3 separate regions of the Homo sapiens genome follow, and all the other regions are linked to region 3. Evidence: promoter capture Hi-C in human tissues and cell types (Jung and others, 2019). All regions are on one chromosome and are shown on one strand. Each heading gives the region's core, a stretch centred on a gene start or on the middle of the fragment in contact. The rest is flanking DNA. Distances are from core to core; before and after follow the strand shown.

Region 1 (4,768 bases), core at 944-3,443, 250 kb after region 3:
CCTACTTCCTTACCAGAGTGAGATATTCAAGGCATGAGTACTACCAAAATCTGAGAAAACTGATGAAAGAATAGGCCCTTCCTAACCTGTCTTTCTCCTACTCTTTCTCCTGTGTTCATCCCCCTTACACACCACCTCCTGGCTGCCCAGGTCTGGAGACTTTCCCCAAGGACTATCTTCTCATCAAAATGTATCTGTCCTGTTCTACTCTTCACCATAGTGACATTGCATTGTAAAGAATTGATGTGCCCTTCCCTCTAGTTCACACGTTTTTGCATTCTAAGTTGGACTTCCTGGGAGTATTGAACAATATTAAGAAATAATTCAAAAGATGGAAATTTCAGAACCTGGAAAAGGGACATGGATAAAATCAAAGCTGTTTACAGAGAAGTAGGCCTCTGAGAGTTCACCATTTTGTACCATGTAGATCTTCACAAACGTACACACACACACACAGCCAGCTGTGAGTTCCCTGAGAGCTGAACCTGGGGCTGTCTTGTTCAGTGCCTGGAAATCAATAAATATATAATGAATCAATGATATCTGAAATACACAACTGCACTTTATTTTCCCTGGGCCTCAGACTAACCCAGCACATGCGCCAATTGTTCCAGGTGACAGGATTTGTATTCATCTTTAGCAAAACACCGCTTCCTATCCCCTCTCTTAGTGAGCCCTGCTGACCCTCCAAAAAGGTCAGAAAGAACCAAGCCTCAGTGAATGACAATGACCCCCATCATTGGGAAATATGGAATAAAGCTTTCAAGAGCACTGAGAGAATGAAGACGAACAGGTTTGCCTGTGTGTGGTGGTGAATGTGAGTTACTGCAGACAGTTAAAGCGATCACCAAAAACCCAGCAAAACCAGCAGTTCCTTGAGAAACATTCACTAGCCTTGTGAGGATCTACAGATATGTAGATGGACTCTCTTGGTTGCAAAGGGGGAACATTACTGGTTCACATCACTGGAAATTCCATGATATATCCAGCTTCAGAAATGGCTGGATGCCGATAATCAAAGATCATCATGGACTTTATGTCTCATACTATATCTCTAGGCACTGCATTCCTTTGGAATGGCTTCATTCCCTAGCAGCTCTCTCTCTCTCTGCATAGAGAAGGATCATGGCACCTAGCAGCTCTAGGCTTATGTTGTCATTAGAATTCTTTTTTTTGCTGGGCGCAGTGGCTCACGCCTGTAATCCCAGCACTTTGGGAGGCCGAGGCGGGCGGATCACGAGGTTAGGAGATCGAGACCATCTTGGCTAACAAGGTGAAACCCCGTCTCTACTAAAAATACGAAAAATTAGCCAGGCGTGGTGGCAGGCGCCTGTAGTCCCAGGTACTTGGGAGGCTGAGGCAGGAGAATGGCATGAACCTGGGAGGCAGAGCTTGCAGTGAGCCGAGATCACGCCACTGCACTCCAGCCTGGGCGACAGAGCGAGACTCTGTCTCAAAAAAAAAAAAAAAAAGAATTCTTGGAACCAACCCAAATGTCCAACAATGATAGACTGGATTAAGAAAATGTGTCACATATACACCATGGAATACTATGCAGCCATAAAAAATGATGAGTTCACGTCCTTTGTAGGGACATGGATGAAGCTGGAAACCATCATTCTCAGCAAACTATCCCAAGGACAAAAAACCAAACACCGCATTTTCTCACTCGTAGGTGGGAATTGAACAATGAGAACACTTGGACACAGGAAGGGGAACATCACACACCAGGGCCTGTTGTGGGGTGAGGGGAGGGGGGACGGATAGCATTAGGAGATATACCGAATGTAAATGACGAGTTAATGGGTGCAGCACACCAACATGGCACATGTATACATATGTAACAAACCTGCACGTTGTACACACGTACCCTAGAACTTAAAGTATAATAAAAATATTTTTAAAAAAACTATAAAATAAAACACAATTTCAAAAAAAAAAAAAAACAAGCTGGGCACAGTGACTCATACCTGTAATCCCAGGACTTCAGGAGGTGGAGGTGGGAGGATTGCTTCAGCCCAGGAGTTCAAGACCACCCTGGGCAACATAGTGAGACCCTGTCTCTACAAAAAATAAAATATTAGCTAGACATGGTGGCATGTGCCTCCAGTGACAGCTACTTGGGAGGCTGAGGTGGAAGGATCACTTGAGCCCAGTAGGTCGAGCTGCAGTGGGCCATGATCATGCCACTGCACTCCAGCCTGGAAGACAGATCAAGCCCCTGTATCAAAAAATTAATTAACTAATTTTTTAAAAGCCCACCCAAAACAGGACCGTGGTAGCCCATGCCTATAATCCCAGCACTTTGGGAGGCCGAGGTGGGCAGATTGCCTGAAGTCAGGAGTTCGAGACCAGCCTGGCCAACATGGTGAAACCTTGTCTCTACTAAATTACCAATTTACTGTATTAGTCTGTTTTCACGCTGCTGATAAATACAAAAATTAGCCAGATGCGGTGGTGGGTGCCTGTAATCTCAGCTACTCGGGAGGCTGAGGCAGGAGAATCGCTTGAACCCAGGAGGCAGAGGTTGCAGTGAGCCAAGTTCACAGCACTGCACTCCAGCCTGCACAACAGAGTGAGACTCCGTCTCAAAAATAAATAAATGAACAAACCCGCCCAAAACAAATGCATAGCTCATCTAAAGTGAAGATTCTTGTCACCACCAGGTCAAGAAATAGAATATCTTGCAACCTACCCCAGAAGTTCCATCCATGAGCCCCTTCCCAATTGCAACCCTCCTCATATCCTGATTTTTGTATTAATCACCCAAATGTGCATTATTAAACTAGGGTTTAGTCTTTCCCATTCCTCTCCAAGCTAATATGTCCCTAAGCTTTTTTCAACCCATATCTTCCCGTCTAATATGGTTTCCCCTCTAATTGGTTCTGTGTCCCCACCCAAATATCACCTTGAATTATACTCCCATAATTCCCACTTGTTATGGGAGGGACCTGGTGGGAGATAATTTGAATTGTGGGGGTGGTTTCCCCCATAGTGTTCTCATGGTAGTGAATAAGTCTCATGAGATCTGATGGTTCTATAAGGAGTTTTTGTTTTTGCATCTTCCTCATTTTCTCTTGCCACTGCCATGTAAGAAGTGCCTTTAACCTCTCACCATGATTCTGAGGCCTCTGCAGCCATGTGGAACTGAAAGTCCAATTAAACCTCTTTTTCTTCCCAGGCTTGGGTATGTCTTTATCAGCCATGTGAAAGCAGACTAATACAGTAAGTTGGTATGAGTATAGTGGGGTGTTGCTGAAAAGATACCCAAAAATGTGGAAGTAACTTTGAAACTGGGTATCAGGCAGAGGGTAGAACAGTTTGGAGGGCTCGGAAGAAGACAGGAAAATGTGGGAAAGTTTGGAATCTCCTAGAGACTTGTTGAGTGGCTTTGACAAAAATGCTGATAGTGATATGAACAATCAGGTCCAGGCTGAGGTGGTCTCAGATGGAGATGAGAAACTTTTTGGGAACTGGAGCAAAGGTAACTCTCTTTACGTTTTTAGCAAAAAGACGGGCAGCATTTTGCCCCTGCCCTAGAGATTTGTGGAACTTTGAACTTGAGAGAGATGATTTAGGGTATCTGGTAGAAGAAATTTCTAAGCAGCAAAACATTCAAGAGGTGACTTGGGTGCTGTTAAAGGCATTCCATCTTATAAGGAAAACAGAATAAAAGTTCAGAAAATTTGCAGCCTGATGACGCAGTAGAAAAGAAAAACCCATTTTTTGAAGAGAAATTCAAGCTGGCTACAGAAATTTGCATAAGTAACAAGGAGCCGAATGTTAATCCCCAAGATAATGGGGAAATGTCTCCATGGCATCTTCACGGCAGCCCCTCCCATCACAGACTCAGAAGCCTAAGAGGAAAAAATGGTTTTGTGTGCCAGCCCCAAGATCTCCATGCTGTGTGCAGCCAAGGGACTTGGTGCCCTGAGTCCCAGCCACTCTAGCTATTGCTAAAAGGGGGCAGGATACAGCTCGGCCCATGGTTTCAGAGGGTGCAAGCCCCAAACCTTGGCAGCTTCAACATGATGTTGAGTCTGTGAGTGCCTAGAAGTCAAGAATTGAGGTTTGGAAACCTCCACCTAGATTTCAGAAGATGTATGGAAATGCCTGGATGCCCAGGTAGAGGTTTGCTGCAGGGGCGGGGCCCTCATGGAGAACCTCTGATAGGGCAGTGCACAAGGGAAGTGTGGGGTCGGAGCCCCCACACAGAGTCCCTACTGGGGCACTGCCTAGTGGAGCTGTAAGAAGAGGGCCAACATCCTTCAGACCCCAGAATGGTAGATCCACTGACAGCTTGCACCGTGTGCCTGGGAAAGCCGCAGACACTCAACACCAGCCTGTGAAAGCAGCCAGGAGGGGAGCTATACCCTGCAAAGTCACAGGGGTGGAGCTGCCCAAGACTATGGGAATCTACCTCTTGCATCAGTGTAACCTGGATGTGAGACATGGAGTCAAAGGAGATCACTTTGGAGCTTTAGAATTTGACTGCCCTGCTGGATTTTGGACTTGCATGGGCCCTGTAACCCCTTTGTTTTGGCTAATTTCTCCATTTGGAATGGCTGTGTTTACCCAATACCTGTACCCTCATTGTATCTAGGAAGTAACTAGCTTGCTTTTGATTTTACAGGCTCATAGGCAGAAGGGACTTGCCTTGTCTCAGATGGACTTGGGAATGTGGACTTTTTGGTTAATGCTGAAATGAGTTAAGACTTTAGGGGACTGTTGGGAAGGTATGATTGGTTTTGAAATGTGAAGACATGAA
Region 2 (4,801 bases), core at 2,037-4,536, 250 kb before region 3:
TTAGGGTAGACCCAGGGTGTCCTGTGGGCTCTATCAGAGCTGGGGATCAAGCTTTGCCATCTGGGGGTCCGTTCATCAGTATTTCAACACAAGGAAGGTGGGTAAATAGAGAAAAGGGGAAAGGAACACCACCTCTTCTGGGAATTCTTCTGTAGACCCCTGCACTGTTTCACAAGGGTGTAAATGTTATATTGGCCCCACAGAATCCCAACCCCCTACATCGTGCTCTCTAACTAGGGGACCGTATCTGAGAGTGGGAAGAATCCGAAGTGATACTTGGTACCCAGGTTCATTTCAAATGCTATGAGGCGTTGGTCCCAGGCTTAGTTAGTTCTTACTTCTAGGTCCGGACACACACATCGGAACCCTACTGATTTTTCAGGCTGTCAACCTTAGGCTATGCATTTTCAGAAATGTTACAGCATGACGGAATTGCAGAATCTCCAGTCCAACCTTTCACTGGACACCAGTCTTCTCACTTGGGCATGGCAGAGTCTCCGCTGAGCTCTACTATTCTTATTTTCAAGGCCTCAAAATAACTCAACTACACCAAGATGGTGACTAGGGAAGAGGGAGGCTGGAGGATATCAAAGCAGGCACTCCAGGGCCAAACTGGAGTAAGACAATTATTCAGCTGGGGGCCAAACCGAATGCTTTAGGGGCAGCGGGGAGCAGAATGAAGCAACCGTGAGGCCTCATGTAGAACCCCAGGGTCAGGAAGAGACACAGCACAGGGTAAGACTCCCTAAGTGAGGCTGCCAGCCTTTTCTGTGCTCACAATACTGCCTGGGCCCACAGCCAGCAGGGCGGAAGCTGCCAGCCAGGCATGAATGCAAAAAACTCAGGAAGTAAAGAGATGCATCATTGAGAAGCTTTCTCTTTGCACACATGACTAAAGGGAACTGGATTAGAAGGGTTTTCTTTTCCCACAGTGGAGGTTCAAAAAGGTTTCATCAAGAGGGCATTTTACTGATAGCTAAACGAGAGCCTCGTGAAGATAGGGACCCCTCATCTTCGTCTCTGTGAACCCATATTATAAGTAGGGTCACGTGCCCCCATGGGCATTTAGGAAACATTTTCCCAAAGAGTGAAAAAGAACAGAGGGCTTGGGAAAATGTGACTTGGGGAATGTTTCCTTTTTCTCTTGCTCTAAATACGCTTTATTGGAAGTTAGGACCAAATAAGGTATTTGGGGGGCAGGAAAGACTAAGGATATTAAAGGCAGTAGAGTTGGTGTTGGCAAAACCTGTCTTGGAAAGAGAAGCAGCTATGTTGGACCAGGGGAGTCCAGAGAATGAGATTCCAGCATCAGCTGTCCCAACACTTCAGTGGGTTATGTTCCCTGCTGGAGCCTCCATTGCCCTTCGTGCAAATGGTGGGGGTGGTGGGCGTAGTGGTGGGGATGGGATGTGTGTGGAAGCTATGTTCTGGAAGGTTCCTTCTGGCTCTTAAGCTCTGATATTTATTAAGAATACTAGGACTAAGCACCTTCTCCATCTGTCAGGCAAATTTGAATGAGTCAGAAAGGTTGCTCATGTCAAGGCAGCTACTGGGCATGTGACAAGGTGCCCAGGGGAACCAGCTTCGGGAATGAGGGCACAGGGCACCGGTGCTCCAGGACTGGCTGGGATCAGACAGCCATCTGCATCAGGAACCTGCCCTGGTCCTGGCTGCCATCCACAGCGGAGTTCGTCCTTGGGCACCAGTCACAGGTCTGTAGGTCAGCAAGGTCAAGAAAGCCTTGTCTTCGCCTCCTCCTCCTCCTCCTCATTGTTATTATATTGTAGTAGCTTTGATCCTTATAACTCTATAACCTTACGGGGTAAGCAAGGCAGAATTGCACCATTTTATGGGTGAAAAATAGAGATTTAAGAGATTTGCCGGAAGTTTGACTTTGGCTAAGTAACAGTTACTTTGCTTGGGTCACAGGACTTATGTGTCCTTCAGTATTTATCCAGGAGATTTTGTGCACCTGGAATTTCCTGGCTTCCCCACGCTGTCCTTGAAGACAAGGACCACGGCTCATCCATCGCTGCACTTCCCACAGTGCCTGGCACAGAGTGGGCCCTCACATGTTTACTAAGCTGAACTCTCAACACCTGTTTCATGCTTGTTCCTTTCCCAGGGAACGTGCACCCACCTTAATTCCCTCATGTATTTCTTCTCCTCAAAAAAGAGGAGGAAAAATGAGATCACTTGCTCAGGTTCAAAATGTACCCTCCTAGCTTTCTAGCTTACCTGTGTGCAAATGGTTTCTGTTTGGGGGCACTAATTGAAAAAGAAATCTGATTTCTGCCCTGTAGCCTGGGAGACGGCCTGCCAAGGAAGTTCATAGGGCCCTCCCCCAGCATGTAATGGCTAGTGGGTGTCCCCGCCTTGCATAGCTGGGGACACTGTCAGAGCAGCCTCCTGTCTTTGTGGCATGTGAGAGATAGAGGTGCCATGAGGGTGGGCACCGGGACAACCAATATCAGAGGTGACAACAGCAGGCCTTTCTGTTCCCTGAGCTGTGACATGTGACTGCACAGTGCTGGCCTTATGCTGGCCGCTACACCCTGGGCTACCATTTTCCAACTCAGTGTCAGCTTTCACACTCATGCCAAGTGCTCCACTGCCAGAAATCCTCCACTGGGAGTGACTCTCCTAAAAGAAGCATTTATTTCCAGCTAAAACTTTGCCTTTGCTCTTCTGAGTTTTGACTTCGCCTCTCCAGTTGGTTGGACTCCTCCCATGATCGTGATACAGGAGGATCACGTGTCTTTCACAGTTTGTTTTTCTAAATAAAGCCAAGGCATTATTTCTTTCCTGTCTATGTGTTTTTCCTGCTCTAGGCAAAACAGAAGTGGTCAGAATTCCTGTTTCGAAAGGTAACAAGAGATTAACATGGCACAGCTCAAAATGCCTCTCGTGATTTCTGATTGGGAATTTTGAGGCCCAGGGTGTAGGACCTGCATTATCCAAGGACCAGAATGTTTTTACAGAAAATTTCAAATGTATACAATGTAGAGAGAGGAGTGGAATGAACCCCATGTCACCCAGCTTGGACAGTTTACAATTCAGAAACAGTCCTGCCTCATCTATGCTAAGCCCATTCTCCCCTTATCTACCTGGATAACTGGAAACAAATCCAGATATATTTCATCTGTATATATTTCATATGTTTCTCTAAAACATAAGGGCTCTTAAAACCACAGTACCATGACCACACCTAGAGAGTTAAGAATTAATACCTTAAGATTACCGAATCCAATTAGAATTCAAATTTTTCCAAATAGGTCATAAATTTTTAACAGTTTGTAAATTTCAGGGTTCACATACAGTCCATATATTTTTTGCAATATTGCAATTAGAGGATGTGTTATGGCCTAGATTACAGCTTGATGGTGGAATGCCTCATCAGAGAACACCTGGGCCCCGCTCCTCCAAGGCTCAACATCTCAGAGCCAGCTTGGTCTATCCTTTGCCCTTAGTGGGTCATGGACTCCCATGCTTCCATGGGTTAGGCCCTCGCCATGTCACACTGCAAAGGCTTCCCACAGGCAACCAGCCCCAGCCTTCCTTGTTACACTGCCAGGCTGGCTCTCCTGCAGTAACCAGATCAATCTTGTCATAGCCTGGCTTGGGTGGCACCACCCCACCACCCATCCGTACACTCCCTTTCTCCCTAGCATGCCCTGCCCCACCCCAACAAGACAAAGCACAGCCTAGCTGTTTTTCATGGCCTTGAAGTGCCCCAACCTGTCAAAGTCTTCAAAGGCCCCCACATCCCGCCCCAGCCTGCCCCATGCTTCAGCCAGCTCCCTGAGCCTAAGAACAGGCTATGCCAACCCACCTTCACAAATGCCGTTATGAAAAAATCTGCTCAAATGCCCTCTTCTTTCCTCTGCACCTTTCCAAATTTCGTCCACTCTTCAAAGTCCAGCTCAGGTCCTGCCAAAGCTACCCCAGTGCTTTCTAGTCCCTGACTTGAACTTCTCGGCCAGCCTACTCGGGTTGTGCACACTAGCAAGCAGTGATGATTGTTAGCCTGCCTCACCTGTGACTGTTAGAGCCAGACTAGTACAGAAACTTATTACAGACTAGAGCTCAGAATATGAGTTTCAAAGACCTTTGGAAGACCAGAACTTTATGTCATATCCCTACTTATGTCTGAACACATCCTTGAATGGATGTGGAGGGTTTTTTTAAGCTCATTTCAGAAATTTAGCCATAAAGGGATGAGAGAAGGGTGTATGCGTGGTGGTTATGGTAAGGTGAGGGTAATGTGAAAGATTTTGTTTTTTGTTTCTGTTTTTGTTTTTGAGACTGAGTCTTGCTCTGTCACCAAGGCTGGAGTGCAGTGGTGCAATCTCAGCTCACTGCAACCTCCGCCTCCCAGGTTCAAGCAATTCTTCTGCCTCAGCCTCCCAAGTAGCTGGGATTACAGGTGCGTGCCTCCACGCCCAGCTAATTTTTTATATTTTTAGTCGACATGGGGTTTCGCCATGTTGGCCAGGCTGGTCTCAGACTCCTGACCTAAAGCGATCCACCTGCCTTGGCCTCCCAAAGTGCTGGGAATACAGGCGCGAGCCACCGCACCCAGCCTGTGTTTTTGTTTTTTATGAAGAGGCTTGAGCAAACTGCTATGCAGACGGCAAAAGAGACCAGAGAAGGAAGGTTGGAGACAGAAGAAAGAGGGGCTCACTGATGAAAGGTAGCCATGAGAAGACAGTGGGGGGATCCAGGCACCAGAGTCAACATTAATTCTGCCCCATGACACTTCTTGGAGGTCATACTCTGAGGTGGACCCCCCTGTGTCTGT
Region 3 (3,859 bases), core at 1,310-3,809:
TCAGGTGCCTGAGGTCCCACTCGGCCTTGCCCAGTGAAATCACCCTCAGTCTCTTGTGACTATTGATCTTATAAAAATGAGGCCCCTTCCCTTCCCCTTTAGAGCTAGACTCTACCCTGAGGCACTAGTTTTGGGGCTCTGAGCAAAGGATACTGGTCATCTTTTAAGGTAAAACAGGCAAATAAGTGCTTTTAAATAAACATCCTGTTTACAGTAAGTTCCTATAGACTACTTCCCTGCCCCCATGCCTCCTGCAGACAGAACCCTGTTTCCACAGTCATCCTTTGCCTGTTCTTGTCAGTCTTCTAAAATTGAAGACACAGGTGCCTGCAGCTCAAATTGTTATGCATCCTTGTTCCGTAGGGCACATTCTTTTGGCAGCTGTGCTGGTCAGAGGCTGCGTGGTTGCTGTCACTGCTGCCAAACAGCATAGCTCTGGACAAGCCCAAAGGGGCAGAGCTTCGTCATCTCCTGGCTGTGCCTCAGACCCTCTGCAGCATGCAGGAGCACATTCCCCCTGGCCCTGGTAGTCTAGGATGCTTCCTGCAGCCTACCTGGAGGAACAGCAGAGGGGCAATGCTCTAAATGTTCTCCCTGCCAATCTTTTGCCATTCCAGCTGGGCTGCAGTAGTGCAACTTGGAAGCCATGCTGAAGCACAGTGACACTTACTCAGTGGAAGGCACAAGTACCACTCTGGCCTTGCAAGAAGTGGAAAGAACCACCTATTCCTAAGGGTCAAACCCTCTGAAAAGCATTGGTTTGAGGAGGATTGGGGAGGGAAAGTGGAGATAATGTGGCTTTCTAATAACACCACCTGTGGTTTTGCAGCATCCATTTTAAGTGGAGAAGTACACCTAGACAGAGCCTAAATTAGGGTGTCAGCTATAATTCAGAACTACATTGATGAGCTTGAAATAGCAGCAGTATCTTGCTCCCCTTCCTTGGGAAATGCTTCCTTTCGACCTCCTTGGTTTGTTTTTAAGAGAACCCCCTACTGTACTTCATCTTGGCATGGTGGAGTAATGGAGGCACAGGGGCACCAGCTGAGGCTGGCTTCTCAGGAAAGCCACTGACAATGGCTACTTCCTTCTTTGCTTGACTGCCTTCTGCTTTAAAGGCAAAGCTGCACCAGCCCTGACCAAACCTTAGTTCCAGAAGTGGGTTCAGCATAGGCTGCTTCATTTGTGTCTATGGGAAAACACAAGGATTCCCATTCCCTCTTATTCCAAATGGGAGAACAAACAGAAGTAACCACTGAGGTGGTGGTCCCTGGGCTGGCAGAGGAAAAACCATTCTCTTCTCACTATTGCCTAGGCAGAACGTGGCCTATACAGCTGCACCATATCAGCATCCCCCAAGCAAACCAAAAAACAACGACTGGGATTCAAAGCAGGAGAGTTAAGGTTGGGTCCTGGGTTTGGGAGTGAAGCAGCATGAGGAAACGGGTCTGCCATATCGTGAAGCCTCGGGTACTCAGGAAGGGGGAGCTTCACGGATAGTACCTCCAGGCACCTTGCCTAGAGTTGAGTCAGAGAGGGCAGGGGTGGCCCACTGGCTTCTCCAAGAGGGAACGGAGGGCACTCATAGAATGGATGGTGTGTGGTCAACTTAAAGGCAAAGATGGACTAAAATACTGAACTTAAAATTGTTTCAAGCAGTTTCACATTAAGAGCTACCTCATCCATCCTGACATTTTGGGAAGTACAGGTTATACATAGTACAAGGCCTTATCAGTGAGAAAATGTAAAGCCAAGTAAATTTAAATTTAAAACACAGAAAGTACTGCTTGACCAAAACTACAAAAACAACAACAACAACAACAAAGCACCAATAAAACATAAAACACAGACACACAACTTTGGAAAGCAGCTACTTCAGTAAAATTCTTTTATGAAACAACTCAGGGTAAAAATCTAGCTGTTGGGGAGGCCCAGGAAAATCCCCCTGCCTAGTGGCAGGCAGCAGGGCTTGAAGGCCAACCAGCCTAGCCTGGAGACAATTACTCTATGGCACAAAAATAACAGGAATGAGGCAGCAGCCATGGACTCTGCTCACAACTCACAACCGTCACCCTTAGCTCTCCACACGCAACAGGTTTCTTCCTAGTAAGGGTGGAGCAAAAGATTCACACTGATGTACTAGAAAATCAAAACAGTTAACATTTACAATTACACTCCTTCCCCCTAAGTACAGACTGCAAAGCCAGACAGAGCTGGCCTGGCCGCCACCACTGCCAATGAAAACGCCTTGGGAAAAGCCAAAAGTGCTCACTGCTAAACACCATTGTCAGCTAAAGGGAAAAAAAAAATCCCTTTTAAGGAAAGTAACTTCAATAGGCTCCTTTTCTGCCAGGACCTCCAATCCCTCTGAACATAAGCCGAACCACAGACTGCCGCACATGTGTCTGGGTCCTGGCTTTTCTTCCCTCACCCCTCCGCAGAGCTTCAGCACCAGTTGTTAGCCAAAAATAAACACCATTCCTCAACCATATATGTCCACCGGCCCAGAGTCGGGGAGGAGGAGAGGAGGCAGGTCAGCCGTCCCCCGGCTGCAGCTGCACTCACATGTGGCCACTGCTCACCATGCACATAACCCAGCTCAACCGGGAGTGCCTGCTGCACCTCTTCTCCTTCCTAGACAAGGACAGCAGGAAGAGCCTTGCCAGGACCTGCTCCCAGCTCCACGACGTGTTTGAGGACCCCGCACTCTGGTCCCTGCTGCACTTCCGTTCCCTCACTGAACTCCAGAAGGACAACTTCCTCCTGGGCCCGGCACTCCGCAGCCTCTCCATCTGCTGGCACTCCAGCCGCGTGCAGGTGTGCAGCATTGAGGACTGGCTCAAGAGTGCCTTCCAGAGAAGCATCTGCAGCCGGCACGAGAGCCTGGTCAATGATTTCCTCCTCCGGGTGTGCGACAGGTAGGCCACCTTGCCTCCTGAGCAGTGCTGGCCCCGCTAGCTCTGGCTTCCCTCTTGGGGGGCAGGGAAGAGCAAATTACGAGACCAAGATGGCTCCACCTTCGGGGCGCCTCAAACTAGGCCCAAGGCAGACATCCAGACCGCCCAAAGCAGGGTCCCCAGGAGACAATAAAATCATGAGGGAAACAATTGCTAATCCTCCTCTTAGCCTCACAGGTCCTGGGCTGCTTCATGCAAACACCAAGAAGTGGGGCCTCCGTACTGGTAGTCATTAAGTGCTGGGTGGGTCCAGCTGGGCCTGGATTTTCAAGGTCAGGCTCTGGGAAAAGGCTTCCAGATGCAGCAATCAGCTCACCCCTCCATTAGGCCTAGCAAGCAGCCCTCAAGGCCTGGGAAACTACGGAGGAAAGAGAGGGTGGGGAGCCAGAGGTGGAGAAGCCAGGGTGCTCAGGTCAGCTGAGCCAAACCAGACTCCAGGAGTAGATGAATTACTGATTTACACAGTATTCCTAAGGAGGGTGGCTTAGCCTAATTTTTCAAATTAGCAAACTGATGCTCCACGAGGTGGTATGATTTGCCCAGTCTAGGGTTGCCAGATTTTAGCAAATATATAGGCTGCCCAGTTAAATATGAATTTCAGATAAACAGTGAATAATATTTTAGTGTAAGTATGTCCCAAATACATCTTGTGTTTATCTGCTAACCCCCACCCCAGACACAGACATAGACACTGAACCACCAGGCCAGGCTCCCTCCATGGTCCCAGCCTCATGGGCAGAGCGGCCCAGGCAAGAACACAGAGCTATTCAACCAGCCTCTCACTGAGCTTCTGCCAGTCCCGTGCTGCCTTTGAGGAAAAACACCCCCTTGATCATATAACAAACTGGCCCTGGCTGTTCATGGAAAACTAGACTCAGCCAGTTTACTGCCACCCAAGTTCA

What was found. Contacts are between HindIII fragments. The study calls those that stand out against the background at their distance.
Region 1: a fragment that was not itself captured here is called in contact with the fragment with the promoter of FBXL22 in region 3 in 1 of the 25 tissues and cell types used here (H1 embryonic stem cells).
Region 2: a contact is called between a fragment that was not itself captured here and the fragment with the promoter of FBXL22 in region 3, in 2 of the 25 tissues and cell types used here (H1 embryonic stem cells and IMR-90 fibroblasts).

Annotation. Positions count from the first base shown.
Region 1 is chr15:63,843,174-63,847,941 of GRCh38, forward strand. No RefSeq gene overlaps it. Among named protein-coding and RNA genes, the nearest start is that of HERC1, 12 kb to the left of the region's middle. The HindIII fragment of the contact is 4,663 bases long and covers 1-4,525 here.
Region 2 is chr15:63,347,773-63,352,573 of GRCh38, forward strand. All of the region lies in intron 2 of CA12 (carbonic anhydrase 12), which reads right to left. Among named protein-coding and RNA genes, the nearest start is that of CA12, 32 kb to the right of the region's middle. The HindIII fragment of the contact is 8,588 bases long and covers 1-4,801 here.
Region 3 is chr15:63,594,828-63,598,686 of GRCh38, forward strand. FBXL22 (F-box and leucine rich repeat protein 22) reads left to right here and starts at 2,560. Exons shown (of 2, transcript NM_001367807.1): 1 at 2,560-2,918. The coding sequence starts at 2,566. The region is part of intron 1 of USP3-AS1 (USP3 antisense RNA 1); the gene reads right to left. The HindIII fragment of the contact is 12,633 bases long and covers 1-3,859 here.